2 separate regions of the Homo sapiens genome follow, and region 2 is linked to region 1. The links are contacts of gene promoters, found by promoter capture Hi-C in blood cells and fetal thymus (Javierre and others, 2016). All regions are on one chromosome and are shown on one strand. The core of a region is centred on a gene start or on the middle of the fragment in contact, and the rest is flanking DNA. Distances in the headings are between cores, read along the strand shown. Region 1 holds the start of WDR88 (WD repeat domain 88). Region 2 overlaps PDCD5 (programmed cell death 5).

Region 1 (2,700 bases), core at 126-2,625:
GCAACCTCTGCCTCCCGGGTTCAAATGATCTTGCTGCCTCAGCCTCCTGAGTAGCTGGGATTACAGGCACGCACCACCATGCCTGGCTAATTTTTGCATTTTTAGTAGAGAAAGGGTTTCACCATGTTAGCCAGGCTGGTCTCGAACCCTTGACCTCAAGTGATCTGCTCATCTCGGCTTCCCAAAGTGCTGGGATTACAGACATGAGCCACTGCACCCAGCCAGTTTTTCTTTCTTTCTCCTTCTTTCTTTCTTTTTCTTTTTCTTTCTTTCTTTCTCTCTCTCTCTCTATATTTATTTATTTATTTATTTATTTATTTATTTATTTATTCTGGAGACAGTCTCGCTCTGTTGCCCAGGCTGGAGTGCAGTGGCACAATCATAGCTCACTGCAGCCTTAAACTCCTGGGTTCAAGGGATCCTCTTGCCTCAGCCTTTCAAGTGGCTGGGACCACAGGTGCGCCCCATCACACTGGGCTAAGTTTATTTCTTGTAGAGACGACCTCTCACTATGTTGCCCAGGCTGGTCTCAAACTCCTGGGCTCAAGTGATCCTCCCACCTGGGCCTCCCAAAGGGCTGGGATTACAGGTGTGAGCCACCTTGCCTGGCCCAATTCATTGTTGTTATTATTATTCTGAGTTTCCCGTTTCTTCTGACGCTAACTGTATCTCCTGGACGGGGAGAGCTGAGCCACCGACCCTTGGGCTGCAATTAGGAGCATCACTGTGGGTGGGCCTACCTACGGAGACTCCAAGGTCTAGATGGGGTCACATGGTGGGGCAGAGCCTCCTCCCAGCGAAGAGTCCTGGTTCCCCAGCAGGTGGCAGTGCGGGGAGCCCCCGCCGGCATCCCCAGCACGCCCTGCTCAGGTGGGTCTGACCTTTGCCCACAGATGTACCACAGATGGGGAAATGGGCCTAGGGCCTCGCTGGGGGTCCTGGTGAAGCCAGGTGGGTTTTCCATGGGTCCCCCGACAGCTCGAGCGCCTTCCTCCCGTGTGGGGAACAGGCCAGTGCCCCCTCACCCCAGCGGCGGTTCTGACCTTGGAGAGAGGGTCCTGGTCGCCCCAGATCAATTTCTCCGGCACCTGGTGCTTCTCAGGCAACAGATGCGGTGGTGGTTCCCTGTCCAAGGCCAGGGGGTCGAGGGTGGCCAGCAGGTGCGTGTGCGGGATCGACAGCTTGAAGCGGCCTAAGGCCCTCGCCATGGTCCCCCAGGACAGCTTGCCGGGACAATACTCGCTGGCGGGGGCGGAGGGTGGCGGCAACTTGCATTCCCTGTCATGGGCTGTCGGGGAGCACCGCGGCGGGGAGGCCATCTCGAAGCCCGGTCCGCCGGTGGCCGCCGACAAGCCTGGATGGGAACGGTGGCGCCGCGCGCCCGCGCCCGCGCCCGCACCAAGCCCTTCGGAGGCGCGCGCTACGCTGGGCCCGCGACTTCGCTGCCTCCTCGCCCGCTGGGTGAAAACTAGTGCCACCCCGCGCAGCACAGGTTACCTATAGAAAAATGGGCTTTGCAGCCGGGCGCGGTGGCTCACGCCTGTAATCCCGGCACTTTGGGAGGCCGAGGCGGGCGGATTACCTGAGGTCAGGAGTTGGAGACCAGCCTGGCCAACAGGTTTAGTGAAACCCCATCTTTACTTAAAAAAAATAATAACAAAAATTAGCCAGGCATGGGGGCGTGCGCCTGTAGTTCCAGCTACATGGGAGGCTGAGGCAGGGGAATGGCTTGAACCCAGGAGGTGGAGGTTGCAAAAAAAAGAAAAATGGGCTTTGCATTCTGGGAACCAGGCCGAGCCAGCAAAACCAGCACCCCAGCCTCCAGCCCTCCGCTGTGGTTTCCCTGGCTCCTGTCACAGGGCAATTTCTTCATGTCCTCTGCCTGGGTACAGCTCCTGGCCAACCCACTTCATGACAAAACAGAAAAGGTCAGTAAGTTATGGGGTAGCCCCTGCATGAAATAAGATGCAGTTATTAGGGGTGGGTTTACAACATTTATAATAGATGAGGGAAATATCTGTCACAACCCCAACAACAGTGACAGGGAATAAAATGCTACCACCAGTCAGATAACAGCCCCATAGCTAGAAAAGGACAGGGTGGAATTATTCAAAATATTGAAGAAGGGTGTCATCTTTGGATGATAAAACTAAAAGTGATTTTCTTCCTTCTTTTTTTTTTTTTTTTTTTTTGGTGGAGACAAGAGTCTGTCACCCAGGCTGGATTGCAGTAGCGCAATTTCGGCTCACTGCAACCTCCACCTCCAGGGTTCAAAGGATTCTCGTGCCTCAGCCTCCCACACAGCTGGGATTACAGGTGTATGCTCACCAGACCTGGCTAATTTTTTTGTATTTTTAGTAGAGACAAGGTTTCGCCATGTTGGCCAGGCTGTTTTTGAACTCCTGGCCTCAAGTGATCCGCTGGCCTCGGCCTCCCAAAGTGCTGGGATTACAAGCATGGGCCACCGCACCCGGCCTCTTCCTTCTTTCTGCTTTTAAAATTGTTGTGATCTATGATGCTACTTTCATAATGTAAAATACAAATGCTCAATACTTTATTTTTTGTGGAGACAGGGGTCTCTATGTGGCCCAGGCTGGTCTGGAATTCCTGGGCTCAAGCAATCCTCCCGCCTCGGCCTCCCAAAGCTCTGGGATTACAGGCATTAGCCATCACACCTGGTCTGCACTTTATTTTTCAAAA
Region 2 (2,700 bases), core at 5-2,504, 550 kb after region 1:
AGAAATGCAAATCAAAACCACAATGAGATATCATCTCACACCGGTTAGAATAGCAATCATTAAAAAGTCAGGAAACAACAGGTGCTGGAGAGGATGTGGAGAAATAGGAACACTATTACACTGTTGGTGGGACTGTAAACTAGTTCGACCATTGTGGAAGTCAGTGTGGCAATTCCTCAGGGATCTAGAACTAGAAATACCATTTGACCCAGCCATCCCATTACTGGGTATATACCCAAAGGACTATAAATCATGCTGCTATATAGACACATGCACATGTATGTTTATTGCGGCACTATTCACAATAGCGAAGACTTGGAACCAACCCAAATGTCCCACAATGATAGACTGGATTAAGAAAATGTGGCACATATACACCATGGAATACTATGCAGCCATAAAAAATGATGAGTTCATGTCCTTTGTAGGGACATGGATGAAATTGGAAATCATCATTCTCAGTAAACTATCGCAAGAACAAAAAACCAAACACCGCATATTCTCACTCATAGGTGGGAACTGAACAATGAGAACACATGGACACAGGAAGGGGAACATCACACTCTGGGGACTCTTGTGGGGTGGGGGGAGGGGGGAGGGATAGCATTGGGAGATATACCTAATGCTAGATGACAAGTTAGTGGGTGCAGCGCACCAGCATGGCACATGTATACATATGTAACTAACCTGCACATTGTGCACATGTACCCTAAAACTTAAAGTATAATAACAAAAATAAAAATAAAAAAAGCTTTTGGTAGGAAGGGGAAAAATTCAAAACACAGATCTGGCCACTTGGCTATGATACTAAAACAACTTACCCAAATGTTTTATTTTGCATAACAAGTTTATTTTTTTAAAAGGCATATAGACAATAAACAAAGTAAATAATCAGATCTTAACTTCTGTCCTAGACTTGTTCCGTTAAGTTCTAGTCTGTGAGCACTTGTAGTTCAATAATCGTCATCTTCATCAGAGTCCATTACTTTTCTTCTGTTGAACTGGGAGGAAAATTAAATGAGTGTCAGAACATTTCTAATAAAGCATAACTCAGATTTTCCGAGAAAAGATTTCTACCAATTTTAGCAAGACATTTGTGTCTTTAAAGCAACTTAGCGTGAACTAAAAGGGTGGGAATGGAGTCAAGAGCCTATAAAAATTAGAACCCTCCCCCAACAGATTCAGCCTTTCTCCCCAAACTTTCACGTGTTTGACAAAAGGAAAATGTCTCTGGGCTGAAAAATATGTGTGGTAGATGTATACTCAACATTAATCTTTAAAGTATCCATCTTTTCATTTGCCACAAGCATCTGGGGACACTTACTTTCACTGTTGTTGTCTTTTCTGTTTGTTGGCTTACTTTTTTAAGGATTTCTATTAAACCTTGTTCTGATACCTAGGAGAACCAGAAAAGATAAGAAAAACAGTACTTTTTTAAACAAAGAATTTACCTCTGCAGATGGAATCACTTTGTACTCTTTTTGAGGTGTGGGGAAAGAGCTCAGGAAGGAAGCAGTGGTGAGGCAGGAGGTTGAAACTATTGGTTATAACTATTGGTTTAAGTTCCAAATAAAATTTGCTCTGCTATTCCTCACTTGAGAAGGAGGGGGAAGTATCCATAAAATTGCTTCCTCAGGAAAACTGAAAGCTAACATATTTAAGAACACCTTTATCATCACTAGCTGAGTGTGACAACCACATATACCACGGTGTTTGGTGTCAGGAATAGACACACCACTTCTGCCCGAGAAGCTTAAACATCCCCTTGAAGGAGGTAAGTCACACTCGGAAAAGATCAACCCAACCAGCTCTCTCCCACACAAGCAGTTCTCAGTGTGAGGGGTTTAGGGGACAGGACCAATTCGGGTAGGCTGTGGTGGTAGCAGACGGCTTCTCAGGGCAGGTGGGGTTCGTCTTGATCTCAAAGGCCAGGTTTGCCACAACATACCCCTCATGGTATTACAGCAACACAGAGAACATAAGCAAGGCATCTTAGCACCTTCTCATCTGCAAAACACACCTTCTACTTACACTGGTAGTATTTTAATTGGTGTTACTGACAAACCTTGCTTCCAGTGCAGGGGCAATTGAAGCTAGCTGACCCTAACAGTCATTGGGTCACAGACACCAACAAGGTTCCAGAGCAACGCCAGGAAAGGAGCGAAGCAGAGGAATTTAGGAAAGGCAATTTATTCTCTTTTAAAGTAGGTATGACTATTCTCTCCAACAATTTCTTCTGAGAGTCAGCAAGAATTCTGTAATCCAGTGAAGATGCAGCTGACCTTTTGAAGCCATGTTTTGATAAAGCAGGTAACAGTAAAGTTCCTCAAGGCTGTCTAAGCTTACCTTCTCACTTAGTTGTCCATATCTTGCCATCTGTATAAGGTAATTCTCTACTGCTTTAGTTTTTTCAGGCTTTACAAGTGCTAAGTTACTTACTAAAAAGAAAAAATACATATGCAAAAAATCCATTAAAATCAAATGCACTTATGTTATACCTTAAAACTATGCATTGACCTTTCCAAAGCACTTCACAAGCTTGTCCCTCAGTGTAGGGCAAGACAGTATTGTTACTCCTCTTAAAAATGAGAAAACTGAAGTTCACCCATGCCAATCTCCACATGGGCACATGGGGGTAGTGGCCCAGCCAAGATTAAAGTTGGGTTCTCAGATTCTAAGCACCATGCTTCCTGTTTCTTA

What was found. The method cuts DNA at HindIII sites, captures the fragments that hold promoters and counts their contacts. A CHiCAGO score of 5 or more calls a contact.
Region 2: a fragment that was not itself captured here is called in contact with the fragment with the promoter of WDR88 in region 1 in 1 of 17 cell types (naive CD4 T cells); the score reaches 5.3 in naive CD4 T cells.

Annotation. Positions count from the first base shown.
Region 1 is chr19:33,130,789-33,133,488 of GRCh38, reverse strand. WDR88 (WD repeat domain 88) reads right to left here and starts at 1,375. Exons shown (of 11, transcript NM_173479.4): 1 at 1,044-1,375. The coding sequence starts at 1,319. RefSeq lists an enhancer at 1,369-1,538. The HindIII fragment of the contact is 21,697 bases long and covers 1-2,700 here.
Region 2 is chr19:32,585,554-32,588,253 of GRCh38, reverse strand. It overlaps PDCD5 (programmed cell death 5), which reads right to left. Exons shown (of 6, transcript NM_004708.4): 4 at 2,347-2,438; 5 at 1,325-1,396; 6 at 801-1,001. The coding sequence ends at 954. Among named protein-coding and RNA genes, the nearest start is that of PDCD5, 5.7 kb to the right of the region's middle. The HindIII fragment of the contact is 1,001 bases long and covers 754-1,754 here.